Linked DNA regions of Homo sapiens: all the other regions are linked to region 4. Evidence: promoter capture Hi-C in 16 types of primary human blood cells and fetal thymus (Javierre and others, 2016). All regions are on one chromosome and are shown on one strand. The core of a region is centred on a gene start or on the middle of the fragment in contact, and the rest is flanking DNA. Distances in the headings are between cores, read along the strand shown. Region 1 overlaps UGGT1 (UDP-glucose glycoprotein glucosyltransferase 1). Region 2 has its middle 10 kb from the start of SAP130. Region 3 overlaps SAP130 (Sin3A associated protein 130). Region 4 holds the start of ERCC3 (ERCC excision repair 3, TFIIH core complex helicase subunit). Region 5 holds the start of WDR33 (WD repeat domain 33).

Evidence for each region. Contacts are between HindIII fragments. The CHiCAGO score rates a contact against its expected background, and 5 or more counts as called.
Region 1: a contact is called between a fragment that was not itself captured here and the fragment with the promoter of ERCC3 in region 4, in 2 of 17 cell types (total CD8 T cells and activated CD4 T cells). The highest score is 5.9, in total CD8 T cells.
Region 2: a fragment that was not itself captured here is called in contact with the fragment with the promoter of ERCC3 in region 4 in 1 of 17 cell types (naive B cells); the score reaches 5.8 in naive B cells.
Region 3: a fragment that was not itself captured here is called in contact with the fragment with the promoter of ERCC3 in region 4 in 1 of 17 cell types (total CD8 T cells); the score reaches 5.1 in total CD8 T cells.
Region 5: a contact is called between the fragment with the promoter of WDR33 here and the fragment with the promoter of ERCC3 in region 4, in 6 of 17 cell types (non-activated CD4 T cells, naive CD4 T cells, activated CD4 T cells and 3 more). The highest score is 8.9, in non-activated CD4 T cells.

What each region holds. Positions count from the first base shown.
Region 1 is chr2:128,099,464-128,102,213 of GRCh38, forward strand. All of the region lies in intron 2 of UGGT1 (UDP-glucose glycoprotein glucosyltransferase 1), which reads left to right. Among named protein-coding and RNA genes, the nearest start is that of UGGT1, 9.6 kb to the left of the region's middle. The HindIII fragment of the contact is 1,995 bases long and covers 296-2,290 here.
Region 2 is chr2:128,036,987-128,039,693 of GRCh38, forward strand. No RefSeq gene overlaps it. Among named protein-coding and RNA genes, the nearest start is that of SAP130, 10 kb to the left of the region's middle. The HindIII fragment of the contact is 2,307 bases long and covers 258-2,564 here.
Region 3 is chr2:128,013,292-128,016,151 of GRCh38, forward strand. It overlaps SAP130 (Sin3A associated protein 130), which reads right to left. Exons shown (of 21, transcript NM_001330301.2): 5 at 1,512-1,623. Among named protein-coding and RNA genes, the nearest start is that of SAP130, 13 kb to the right of the region's middle. The HindIII fragment of the contact is 1,228 bases long and covers 780-2,007 here.
Region 4 is chr2:127,292,748-127,295,447 of GRCh38, forward strand. It overlaps ERCC3 (ERCC excision repair 3, TFIIH core complex helicase subunit), which reads right to left and starts at 1,397. Exons shown (of 15, transcript NM_000122.2): 1 at 1,307-1,397; 2 at 766-971; 3 at 1-99. The coding sequence starts at 1,334. The HindIII fragment of the contact is 2,323 bases long and covers 422-2,700 here.
Region 5 is chr2:127,809,872-127,812,571 of GRCh38, forward strand. WDR33 (WD repeat domain 33) reads right to left here and starts at 1,300. Exons shown (of 22, transcript NM_018383.5): 1 at 1,141-1,300. LOC124907885 (a long non-coding RNA gene) reads left to right here and starts at 1,380. Exons shown (of 2, transcript XR_007087230.1): 1 at 1,380-2,272; 2 at 2,641-2,700. RefSeq lists enhancers at 1-282, 365-1,305, 712-791, 872-951, 972-1,261 and 1 more. The HindIII fragment of the contact is 7,008 bases long and covers 1-2,700 here.

The sequences.
Region 1 (2,750 bases), core at 43-2,542, 810 kb after region 4:
CATTTTCCCCTTAATTCCTAGAAAAATGTGGATGAAGAATTTTGCCATGTTGATTGTGTGAACGAATGGTTGCACCTCTTAAGGAAAAAGCCTCATTTGATACTGCTAAAAGGACCAGTGGGAGGGGGCATGTGGCAGCCGGTCTTGGCTAGCTCAGGAGCCTAGCAGACTTTCTGCTAAATAGACTTCCTTCCATCGCCTCTCTCTGCCTTTCTTTCTCAGCATAGAAGTGGCAAAACAAAGACAAAACCATTGTATGTATTTCATGGTGATAACTAACTTGATAAATGGGTCAAGCTTGTCAAATGTCAGAACTTTATTTGATACAGCATAGTTGTAAAAGTGAAGTGGCTCTTTTTTAAGAGTTCTTATTATGGGGGAAAAAAGCCCAACAAAGCAAATAACAAACAAAAAAGCAGTGACTGAAGATATTTTGAGACTGCCTGAGCTGGACTGCCTGAGCTGGACTCTAAAAACTAAAGTTTTTCTTTTCCTTTTTGCTAATCTTATTTTGGATGATTTGTTTGGTATAAAATCTGTCATTGAGATTTACAACCCCCCCCCCCACCCTACTTATTTTTTTTGAGACAGAGTTTCATTTTGTCACCCAGACTGGAGTTCAGTGGCGCCATCTTGGCTCACTGCAACCTCTGCCTCCCAGGTTCAAGCCCATTCTCATTCTCCTGCCTTAGCCTCCCAAGTAGCTGGGATTACCGGCGTGTGCCAGCATGCCTGGCTAATTTTTATATTTTCAGTAGAGATGGGGTTTTACCATGTTGGCCGCCAGGCTGGTCTGAACTCCTGACCTCAGGTGATCTGCCCTCCTTGGCCTCCCAAAGTGCTGGGATTACAGGCGTGAGCCACCGGGCCTGGCCAAGATTTACTATCACTTTCTGAATCATTTTGTACAATTAACTGTAACAGGTGTTTTTGTGATATTCTGTTTAACATTCTTTTTTTGAGATGGAGTTTCGCTCTTGTTGCCCAGGCTGGAGTGCAATGGCGTGATCTCGGCTCACCGCAACCTCTGCCTCCCAGGTTCAAGCGATTCTCTTGCCTCAGCCTCCTGAGTAGCTGGGATTACAGGCATGCACCACCAAGTCCGGCTAATTTTGTATTTTTTTTTTTTTTTTTTTTTAGTAGCGATGGAGTTTCTCTATGTTGGTCAGGCTGGTCTGGAACTCCCCACCTCAGGTGATCCACCCATCTCGGCCTCCCAAAGTGCTGGGATTACAGGTGTGAGCCACCGCGCCAGGCCTCTGTTTAACATTCTTACCCTGAATTACATTTTGTTACTTTCACTTTTATTTACACTAATTTCTTGATAGTTGTACATTCTTGATCATTGTCCTAGAAGATTCTTACAGCATAAAACTATGGACTTTTGAGAAAGAATGCTAAAATTGCCAGCCCTAATTGCTCAATATTTTCAGTTTCTTTGATCACTGTGAAGTGGACAGGGTATACTGTTTTCTTCACCAACTTCCTTATCACAGACATCTCCCCCTTTCATGATATCCCTGGTCATTTGCCATTTTGTTTTATTTTTATTAATTTTTTTCCTTGGCATGTGAAGTAAGAGCTACATTTGCCCTTTTGGTTTACTATTTTTAGGCCCCTTCTCCTGTGGCTATTTGTATACAGTTTCCCAAGGTAATACGACATGTAGGCAACTCATAGAAATGAGCTATGCTTATTAGAATCCACTTAGTATTCACCTCCAGAGCTAGCAGAGCCCACCATTCTTCCTTCTTATGTCTGTGGGAGACCCTGATGTTGGATCAAGGTACTATGTCCATCTGGTTAAGGATGAAGGGTCAAAATATTTTACTACACTTTATGGCATGCCACCACCACAGATCTTTTGCCTTCCTTGCATCTATCCCTTAGGGACTAAAAATATTCCTGTTGTGTATTTTTAGATTGGACCTGATGTTTGTGAAGGAGTTGTAGCTTTGTGATTGTCTATGAAGTGATATTTATCTTTAATTGAAGTAAAACACTAAATATGTTTTCTGCAGCTGTAGCTACAGAAATATTATATAAGGAGGTATTATTAAAATCAAAACCAATAATCATTTACTGAGTGCTAAATTTTGTAATGACCCAAGAATGTAGCATGTTAGAGGTATAAATTAAATAGACATGAATTTATATTCCAGCTTTTCCATTGACTAACTCTATGTCCCTAAGAAAGTCAGTAGCATCTCTGAATGGCAGCTTCTTTATTTGAAAAACGGTTATATCTGAGGGTGGCTGTGTGGGTTTGCGGACACGAGTAAATATGCCAAGCTTAGTGACTGTAACATCGTAGAGCCTCCTTAAATATTAGTTTCTTCCCTCCTAGTTCCACATAGAAGGAAGACCAATGCTGATCTCCCGCAATAGCTTTGGAAATCTAAGAAAACAAGTTGTCACCTGATTTGTACTATCTTGTGGGCATTCATTCTGGTTGTTTGTAGTTTTTTTTGTGTTGTAGATTAAAAACTTGTCCTGGATTATGGCATTTCAAAACATTTATATATGGAGAGAATGGTATAATGTACTCTCTCTGTACCCATCATCCTGTTTTAACAATTATCAATTTAAGTACAATAACCACCATCACCACCCCCTTCTCTCCTCCCGCACTAGAATATTTTAAAGCAAATCCCAGACATCATATAGTTTGTAAAATCATAATTTTTTTTTTTTTTGGGATGGAGTTTCACTCTTGTTGCCCAGGCTGGAGTGCAATGGCACGATCTTGG
Region 2 (2,707 bases), core at 161-2,660, 740 kb after region 4:
CCCCTTCCCACCTAGATAGCTGTGTTCAATTTCAAAGATTAGCCAATCAGGTCAGTTTAGACTGTGCGGTCCCACCCCAGCCAATGAAGACAGAACACAGCAGTAGGAACCAATTGCATTAGGGATAAAAACCCCTGCCCCACCCTGCTCAGTGTGCTCTTGCAATCGTGACTGGCGCAAGCTGCACACTTCTGCGGAAGTAAATTTGCCTTGCTGAGAAAATTTCTGTTTGAGTGCTATTTCTTTTGCAGCACTGAAGCTTGTTTCTAACAAATTTGGGGGTTCGTCCAGGATTCCCATTCTCCTCTGGGGAAGGGTCCAGTCCTCTCCTGTGAGGAGGTGTGCCCTGCTGCCTCATTGCAGTGGACTCAGGGGTAAGGAATCAAGACCCACCTGGTGTGACGAATAAACCTGGACTCTCAGCAATGCAGGAAAAAACAGACCAACAACTTGGGAAAAAAAAAGAAAAAGATCATCATATACCATGGCAACCAGGTAACTCTGTGCACAGACCAAGGTAAGAAACATTACTGGGTTGACAACGTATTTCCTTGATTGTTGGGAGATCTTGGAGGTTGAAAGCTGTAAGTGTGTGAATAAGCACTACTAGCGTGCAGAGTGAGTTGAGTTCAATCTGTGGTTCCATGGTCACCTCATATGGCGGCCTTTCGAGGGTCCCATCAGGGGTTTATACTGATTCGCCAACGTTAAGAGGGACCCGATGTTCCCTTTGGGGAAGTGGCCAGAGAGGATGAAATGAAAGGAAAAGAGTGCAAGAAGCCCCCACCAGGGAGGGTTGAGCCTCTAGAGAAAAGGAAGGCAAGAAATCCCTAATACGAGGCATTGAGCCTCTAGAAGAAAGGAAAGGTGAGAAATCTCCAGTAGGGGGCACTGAGCCTCACACAAACCTCTAGTATTAGGGAAGGCAAAAAAATTTCCAGTAGGGGAAGTTAAGGTTCACCCCAAAACCATCAAGATTGGAAATACCCCAAGTAAGACAGGAAGTAAAAAGGATAAACCTAACAGCAATGATATTCCCCTTGATAGTCCCTTAGGTCTCATGTTAAAGTATTTGAAAGATAATAAAGGACTAAGCATAAGATAAAGCAACGAATGATAAAATAGTTTTATTTGGACCCAGGAACCAATCCTCAAACCCTCAGTTTTGTGGACAAAATTTGGGTCAAATGAGTACTGGATTTGTCAGCTTCTAATAGAACATGTTAATATCAAGAGTCTTGTTTCCCAAGAAGAGATAGATTATGCCTTGTTTTGGTGACAAGGACCTGTTCTTCTCTACCCCCCAAAACTCTAAAAGATAAGCGTAAGCCAGAGAATGTTTCCCCTAAGGAAACTGAAACTCTTAACCCCAAGCAATCTACACCTCGGACCTGCTAAATCACCTTCCCCCACCAAACACTCCTAACTTTCCTCCCCCTCAAGCAGCTGCTGTCCCAGACCCTTCTCCTACCCCCGTTGTTCCCCCTCCTTATAACCCTGCCTCTTGGGAATCATCCCAAGAGCCCAATCACTACCAGCCTAAGTACCCTTCCCTAAAGGGACTTCAACGTGAAATAGAGAAATGTAAAAAAGATATTCAAAACTTCCCCAAACTTTCCCTTCCCCTCTGCCTTAGGGGAATCAGCTCCAGCTCTCTTCCCCTTGAGGGAGGTGCCCCTAGGAGGAGGAGGCATTGGCTTTGTAAATGCTCCTTTAACCAGCTCAGAAGTACAAAACCTAAAAAGAGAGCTTAAGCCACTATTAGACAACCCTTACGGGGTAGCAAACCAAATTGACCACTTTCTAGGACCACAGTTACATACTTAGGCTGAGCTAATGTCCATCCTAGGCAACTTCTTCTCAGGAGAAGAAAGAAGCATCATTCGTAGAGCTGCTATGGTAGTCTGGGAACGTGAACACCCTCCTGGCCAAAACGTTCCTGCAGCAGATCAAAAATTCCCCTCCCAAGACCCCTGGTTGGACAATAACAATGCAGCCCACCAAGAAAATATGCAAGACCTTAGGGAAATGATAATAAAAGGAATTAAAAATCAGTACCCTGAACCTAGAATCTTACCCAGGCATTTCATATTCAGCAAGGGAAAGATAAAGGGCCTATAGAATTTTTAGACAGATTAAAAGAACAAATGAGAAAGTATGCAGGTCTAGATCTCGAGGATCCTCTTGGGCAGGGAATGTTAAAACTTCATTTTCTTACTAACAGTTGGACAGATATTTCAAAGAAATTACAAAAGATAGAAAATTGGAAAAACCGTCCCATGAGTAAACTTCTTAGGGAGACTCAAAAGTGTACGTAAGAAGGGACGAAAAGAAACAACAGACAAAGCAGAAGGCAAAACTTCTGCTGTCAACCGTACCACACAGTACTCAGGGGGCGAGAACCTATAAAGAGCCTAGGCCCCCACTTTCCAAGCCATATAAAGAGCACCAAAAAGCGAAGCCTTCGAACTTAAAATTAGAAAAGGAAGAAAGGATCTCTTTGAAGGCTATAATGCTTTGAAAACTGTGTTGGCAGTGTGGCATGACTGTTTAAAGTAGATAAAAGCTTGTCCTTTTACCCCATCCCGGCATGACTGTGAAGCTGGCAAGGAAAGAGGAAGAAAGGCAAGTTCGGCTGCAAGCTGGGCGGCTGGGACAGGTTGGCTGAGGGACCACTCTGGAGGGCTCTTGCGCCCGGCATTGCCCA
Region 3 (2,860 bases), core at 144-2,643, 720 kb after region 4:
GAAAACAAAGAAAATGTGTATTCAAGAGATTTAATAATAATTTATATTGCCTCTTCACAGACAACCTTAAGTGAAACTAGCTGCTGTTTTTTGTTTCTGTTAACTGCAAGTGTGCACAGTGGTAAAGCACACAGGGAACAGCAGTGTGATGCCACTGCCTCAGCTCTGACGAGGCTCGGACACTTTGCCTTCCAGTCTTTGTTCCATTAGAGCAGACGTCGACATTGCCAAAGGGACACATTATGAACCTTAACCTTAAACCTAACCCTGCACTTTTCACCCTGCAGACCCCCATAAGGGCCTGTGAACCACATTTGGAGAACTGCTGAGTTATGCTATAACCAAGCAAACCTGGTCTTGCGTTTGCTAACTTGATTTTGCCAACAATCTCCAATTGTTGTAAAGTCTCCAATAAAAGGTAAAAATTTCTAGTCAAAATTCATTTATTACCTCACAACCTATTAGAACTTAAGGGTAAAAATAAATTAATCTTAGCCATGTGGTGGCTCACACCTGTAGTCCCAGCCACTCAGGAGGCTAAAGTGGGAAGATCGCTTGTGCCCCAGAAATCTGAAACCAGCCTGGGTAACCCAGTGAGGCCCCATCTCAAAAAATAATTATCATCATCATTTTATTGTTACATAAGTTAAAAAACTGAGTAAAGATCATCACTGAACTTTAAAAATATTCAGTATTAATATTTGTGACTTATGTATTAAAAATAAAGACCATGTTGCAGATAAGCAGTCTAATAATAAAGACCATGTTGAGATTATCAAAGCTTGGGCAGTTCCTCAATATATAGGACAATTTTAGACCATATTAAACACTTTAATTGCATAAATATACACACTTGTAATACAACTATAATAAGCACATATTAAACCATGCTAAAAACATGGATTGCTCTAAGTTTATTTCTACTGTCTTGCGATTTTTTTTCTTTTTCTTGAGACAGGTTCTCGCTCTGTCACCCAGGCTGGAGTGCAGCGGCGCAATCTCAACTCATTTCAACCTCTGCCTCCCGAGCTCAAGCCATCCTCCCATCTCAGCCTCCTGAGTGCCATCCTCCCATCTCAGCCTCCTGAGTGCCATCCTCCTATCTCAGCCTCCTGAGTGCCATCCTCCCATCTCAGCCTCCTGAGTGCCATCCTCCCATCTCAGCCTCCTGAGTAGATGGGACTACAGACGCATGCCACCACACCTGGCTAATTTTTTGTATTTTTGTAGAGACAGGGTTTCGCCATGTTGCCCAGGCTGGTCTCAAATTCCTGGACTCAAGTGAACCTACCACCTCAGCCTCCCAAAGTGTTGGGTTTATAGACATGAACCGCAGCACCTGGCCTTTTTTTCTTTTTAAATAAAAGAGGTTTATTTGGTTCACGGTTCTGCAGACTGTTGTTCTGCAACTTTAACAAGCTGATTCTAGATACATTCTGTGTTACGTATTTTACCAAATGTATATCTACTACTACATTTTGAGAGTTTGAACAAAACTTGCAAGTCGTTACCTCGAGGTAAATGAGAAGCTCCAATGTGAAGAGGGGGCCCAGGAGCATTGCTGCGGATGATAGACATTTGCACATTTGTAGTCATGATGTGATGCAGGTTACTGGGATGGCCCTGAAAGAAAGAGGATAGAACGTTATTTTTACATGTTTGCTCTTAGCCATTGCCTCTAGGAAGTCACCTGCCTCCAAATGTGGGTCAGGTTGTTTTTTAGATAGTGAGTATCCCAAGAGAAAGGGCTAAGGACATTCAGCTTGAGCTACTTTTACATGCCATACCGTACAATGAACTGTGCTAACAGGCATGTGAGAAGTATGAGGACCCCACAACTGCTGCAGGCCCACATAATTACAGATAATATACTTCGATATCTACGTTTAGAAACTCTCATCTGCGATATTACCTTTCACACTTGTTTTCCCTGTTCTGGCCAAATGCTTATTTTTTTTCCCATTCTCACTATTTCCTTTACATACCACTGCATCCATCCATTCTTTAAGCTTTTTTGTTTCTAAGTAAATGTCAGTTGGTATCCAACAGGTGCTCCCTACCAGTTCTTCAGCTCAACCCTGAAATGTCCCTTACATTCTCCCAAACCACAGAGTTCAGGGCTTCTCAGCTAAGGGTTCTGGTACTTCTGAGAGTACTCAGCAGTATGACAAAAGGAAAAAACACAGTACACCTCTTTGGGATATAAATTTTTCTTGAAAATGTGAAGGGAAAGTTTTTAGATTTAGTTTTTTTCCCCAGGTAAAAAATGTAAAATATTTAATTAATCAGGTACACAGCAGAGTAGGATTGCAAAATTTCACAAAAAAACCTTAAAACAGAAGACTTCAGAATAAATGTTCGCAACTAAGGCTGGGTGCGGTGGCTCATGCCTGTAATCCCAGCACTTTGGGAGGCCGAGGCGGGCAGATCATTTGAGGTCAGGAGTTGGAGACCAGCCTGGCCAACATGGTGAAACCCCGTCTCTATTAAAATAAAAAAATTAGCTGGGGGTGGTGGTGCCCGCTTGTAATCCTAGCTACTCGGGAGGCTGAGGCAAGAGAATGGCTCGAACACGGGACGTGGACGTTGCTGTGAGCCAAGACTGCACCACTACACTCCAGCTTGGGTGACACCGTGAGATTCTGTCTCAAAAAAAAAAAAAAAAAAGTTTGGAACTAGAGAGCTGCTTGAGGTAACCTATCCCAAGAGATGCACATCTGCTCTCCTCAGAGAAACCACAGAGCAGCACTGCCTACCCCCGGAAGGCAGTTCTTGACGCTAAAACCAAACACGAACCGGACTCCGGACTCCTCAAGGACACGGACTGTTTTATCTAGATTTATATATCACACTAGGGTCG
Region 4 (2,700 bases), core at 147-2,646:
GGTTGGTCGGCACACTGGCTCTGCAATAGCCACCAAGAAGTCTTGGGCATATTTGTAAACTGGAGAGAAGGCTTCCAAGAAGATATGGCCATCGGGAGCCTGAGAGATACCAAATGGACAAAACAGACAAGGAAACATGAGTTGCAGAGACTACTGGGCTCTTGCCCATATCATTATCAAGAAAGAATAAGCTGCCCAACACCACAGATATTCTTGCAAGCACTCCTTCAGACAACTGTGGGGCCTGTTACATTAATCAGATACAGAAGAGTAAAGAAAAATAGAAGAAAGTGTTTCCAAAGTCAACAGCTGTTTCCTACTATTCTGCACAGAGAAAGCCCATCTTACTGGCTATCCTCAAGTTACCTTTTGGCTAGATTTCAACTAAATGTATAACATTAATTATTTAAAGTAGAGCAAAAGCTTGCTACCGAACATGTCTTCCATTATTTGAGGAAACAAACTGTTACATGATAAATGCTATTTATTCGGCAGATAAAAGGATTCACTACATGGGGTAGGGCTGGGGAAGGAGTGAGAGTAAACCGAGGGGTTAGAGCTGTTGGAAGCCCAGGTCCGGCCGCCACACGTGTGCGCAACTGCTCGCTGTTGCCTTGGGCTGTTCCAACGTGTGTGGATGAAAATTCTCTCCCGGCCAGTTCTAGGGGCAGTATCCTGAATGTCAGTTTTGACTCTGAGGATGCCCAAGATTTAGCTGCCGCTCCGCACACTCCTGGGCCCTGCCCAAGCTAAGGGCATGCTTACCACCCAGAGGGGCCTGGAGGTGTGGTCGTCCTTCAGCGGCATTTGCAGCCTGTAGTCCTTGGCTCCATATTCATCCACTTTGGTGCCTGACTCATCCACCTGCTTCCCCGCCGCCGAGGGAACCGCTTCCTGAGGGTCGTTCCCCGGGGCGTCCTCTTCATCATCCTCTTCATCCTCATAGTGCCGCTTCCTGGATTTCTTCTTGTCTGCAAGATACCAACACAGAAGTAAGCCCAGCAGGAGCCTTCAGGGTTCCCTCCGCACCGCTTGGCAGCATTTCACCTGCGCCGCCGCAAACTCCTAGCTAAGAGCCACCTGCATCCCGCAGGCGTTGCGCCCCTCACCCGTCTCCCCTAGGCCGAGTTCGCTGGGCTGCGCCCAGGTCCAGCATCTCTCCCGCCCAAAGGCCTGTCCCAACGGGGTGCGCGCGGGAGGGCCAGCAGGGTCGGCCGGCGCAGAGGCCCGGAGCAGCTCCGAGGCAGAGCGGGGGGCAGGGCCGGCAAGGGCAGTCGTGGCTGAGCGTGCCCGCGCAACGTCTCACCGCGGTCCGCTCGGTCTCTTTTGCCCATGGCAGCTACAGCAGCAGAGAGAAGATGACCCCGCTCCCACAGGCCCGCCGCGGCATCCGCTCTGGGGGGACTTCCGGCTCAATCCGGAAGCTCCCTGTTGTCCACACAGGATGTCCCGCCTCTAGGCGCCGTGATGTGGGTGGCTGGAAGAGCGGAGAGCCAGCGACCGCCGATCTGTTAGCTCGTGCGACCCAGCGGCGGGGGTCCTCCACTGTTCATTTCTCTACAACTGAAGGAAAATACTGTGTGTTGAGCACCTGTGTAGTGCGCGAATTAAAGGCCTCATCCTTCTGGAACTTAAATTTTAATGAAGCCATGTGGGCAATAAATGTGTGTGTGAGAGAGAGAGAGAGAGAATGTGACCTGAGTCCATGGGTAAGGAAGAATTCTTTTTTTTAATTAAAAAAAATTTGGCTGAGCACGGTGGCTCACGCCTGTAATTCCAGCACTTTGGGAGGCTGAGGTGGGTGGATCACTTGAGGTCAGGAGTTCGAGGCCAGCCTGGCCAACATGGTGAAACCCCATCTCTGCGAAAAATACAAAAAAAAGTAGCCAGGCATGGTGGCACACGCCTGTAGTCTAAGCTACTTGGGAGGCTGAGATGGGAGAATCTCTTGAACCCAGAAGGTAAAGGCTGCACTGAGCTGAGATTGCACCACTGCACTACAGCCTGGGCGACAGGCCGAGAGTTCGTCTCAAAAAAAATTTTTTTCTTTTTTTTTTTTTTTTTTTTGAGACGGAGTCTCGCCCTGTCGCCCAGGCTGGAATGCAGTGGCGCGATTTCAGCTCACTGCAAGCTCCGCCTCCCGGGTTCATGCCATTCTCATGTCTCAGCCTAAATAAAGCAGATTACCCTCAATAATGCGGGTGGGCCTCATCCAAATCAGTTGAAGGCCTTAAGAGCAAAGACAGGTTTCTCAAGGAAAAAGGAATTCTGCCTCCAGACTGCAACACAGAAAGTTCTGACTGAGTTTCCAGCCTTTGGACTCAAAACTACAACATCAACTCGTACCTGAATTCCCAACTTGCCAACCCCCACAATTGCATGAGCCAATTCTTTAAAATCAATCAATCAATCTCGCTTGCTCAGTGGGCCTCTTGGTTCTGTTTCTCTGGAGAACGTAACACAGATTTTTGGTACGGGGAATAGGGTACTGCTGTAACAAATACCTAACAATGGGGAAGTGGTTTTCAAATTGGGTAATCGGTAGAGGCTGAAAGAATTTTGAGGCGCATGATAGAAAAGCCTCTATTGTCTTGAAGAGCCTTGGTAGAAGTATGGGCATTAAAGGTGATTCTGGTGACGGCTCAGATGGAAAGGAGAAATATGTTATTGAAACTGGAGGCAAGTGGTAGAGAGCTTGCC
Region 5 (2,700 bases), core at 50-2,549, 520 kb after region 4:
TCTTCTCCCGGTCAAGGAGACAAAAAAAGCAAAAGTATCTTACAGTAATAAAAAATGGGTAAAATGCAATTAAGGCGAGGAAATGAAAAATGCCACAAGAGGTACAACTAGCATAACTGTCACTAAAAGGTTTGAATTAAGTAGGTTTACCACTGCACCATATTCACAGGCTATATATACATACACACACACATATATACACATATATATGTATATATAGCATGCATTAGCTCTCCAGAGTGTACTAAAAAAGTAAAGTCTACGCTCCCCAGAGTTGTTCCTTTCAGTGCAGGCTTTTTGTTCATATTCTAATGTCTTCCAAAGTTCCTGAACAGTCAACTTAAGATCATGTGTGTAGAAACTACTTTAAAACATTCTTGACAGGCTTTCTACAAGTAGCCCGTATTTTTCTGATTTGATTTAAATAGATCCAATTACGGAATTCCCTACCGACCTGCCGCCGCCGCCTCCTCCTTACTCCGGAAGGGGCCACTAATCCCAAGGGTTACAACCAAGTACAAACATTCATTGTCATTTCTTTTAAGAAGGCATGCTAAGATCCTCACTACTTAGTTGCCAGAAGACAACTTAAAATCAGAAACAGGGATCTAGCACAAACCAAATAGAAATACAACTATTCCAAAAAAGCAGGGCTTTGCCTGTCAAGCTGTAGCCTCATCCTTATAATAAGCACCGATTTCAAGCCACGATAACATCACGGCTAAGTCTTCAGCTGTTTTGCAGATTTCACGTTAACTTCCCTTGACCCTTTCAACCAACTACTTCAACTCGGCCCACTTCTTTCCACTCCCGCCCCAAACCTCAGTTAAAATGCATTTCCCTCCAAACTTCACGTCTTAACTGTGGCCTGACTTACGTCTTCTCGTCGCCACCGCTCCCAGTCAGGGCCTTAGTTCTAACCATGGCCGCTTTTCCCGGTTGGCCTCCAGCCTCCAGCCCCCTCCCATAAGTCTCGAACCTGCCTCGAACAGCCGCCCCGAGGTCGATTCTCCCAGTTCCTCCAACCTGTGCCCAGGCGCCCGTCCAGGCCCCCAAAGCACGCAACGGCCGAGCCCGAAAATGGCGGAGAGTGCCGCTGCCTGCTGCAGGCGAGCAGTCCCGTGTCGCCGCCGCACTCACCGTCTGGCTTTGAGCAGAGCTCCTAAATGGCCAGCGAAGCGTTCGCCTTCAGAGCCAGAAATGTCTCTCTTGTTTGGTCTCCCCACCCCGATCCTCTCAATCCCGCTCCTCCAAAGGAGCAGCCGCCATCTTCCCCTATGGGCCACCGAACGCACGCTCTGGGGTCATCACGCACTGGCGGGACGGCGCTACGTCACGCGCGCCTGGACCGCGGGCCTCTGTGAGGTTCGATCTGCGCATGTGCCTAGGTGAGGTGCCGAGCCGCGAGACCCTGCAGAGCGCTTCCTTTGTTCCGGAGCGAGTAGGACGCGCTACCTCCTGGAGGAAAGAAGCGACTGCGTTTCGCAGTGCTGACTTTTTTTTACAGTGTGAGCTAACGTGTATGCTCTGAAAAACACCCCGTTTTCCAGTATGTGAATGAGTATATTTGTACGGGGCCAGTACGGCAGACATAGCGGGTCGTTGGACCGAGCCCACCGAGAGTGGATCTGTGGGAAGCCACTGTGGCACCTTGCTGAGTCTGTTCACCCGTGCAGCTAGCTGGTGGCAGCCCTGGCAGATCCCGGCACACAGTCAGGCTCCACGCCTTACCCGAGCCAGTTGTGCCTCTAGATTACGCCTCGCTTAAAGTCCAGCGACCAAGATAGAAAAACAGCCCCACGATGCAACCATTTTGGAAAACCGCTGCAGTTTCTGCCAAAGCTAAATGTACGCTTACCTTGTGACCCCAGAAATTTCACTTCAAGAGGAATGAGTGCATACGTCCACCAAAGGCATGTGCAAGAATGTCCATAGCACGTTTATTCGTAGTAGTAAAAAACTGGTAACCTAAATGTCCATCAGCAGTTGAGTGGCTAAATTGTGGTGTATCATACAGTGGATTTCTACAGAGAAATAGGAAGTTACGGATAAACGCAACAGCCTGAACGAATAGCAGCTACTGTTAACTTAGGCACAAAGAAGAGGACGCTGTATGATTCCATTTTGATGAGGTTCAAAATATAACTGCACAGCAAGTTGTTCTCCAGTATGAATCAGGAATCGTACCAGCCTGGGGAACATGGCGAGATCCCATCTTTGCGCGTCGGGGTGCGTTCCTGTGACCGCCTTCCTGTGATCGTTCCTGTGATGGGTACTTGGGAGACTGGGGTGGGAGGATCACTTGAGCCCAGGAGTTGGAGGGCGCAGTGAGCCAAGATCGTGCCAGTGCACTTAAGTCTTGGAAGCAGAGTAAGACCCTGTCTCAAAGAAGTCTTACTTTTGACTCCATAATCCCCTTCCAAAAATCTATTCTAAGGATAGCCTCAGAGATGTGAGTAAGATTTGTGTACTAATCTTTGAGGTATTAATGATAGCAAAAAAAAAAGGAAACAGTAGCAGACAGTGATTAAATAATGGCACATCCATACGTAGACTATCATGCAGACATTACACAGTATCTAAAGTTTTTATGATAACATCAGAAATGTTTATAAACTTCTATATTTTTTCTTTTTTTAGAGACAAGGTCTCTCACCCAGGGTGATCATAACTCACTGCAGCCTCAACCTCCCGGGCTCA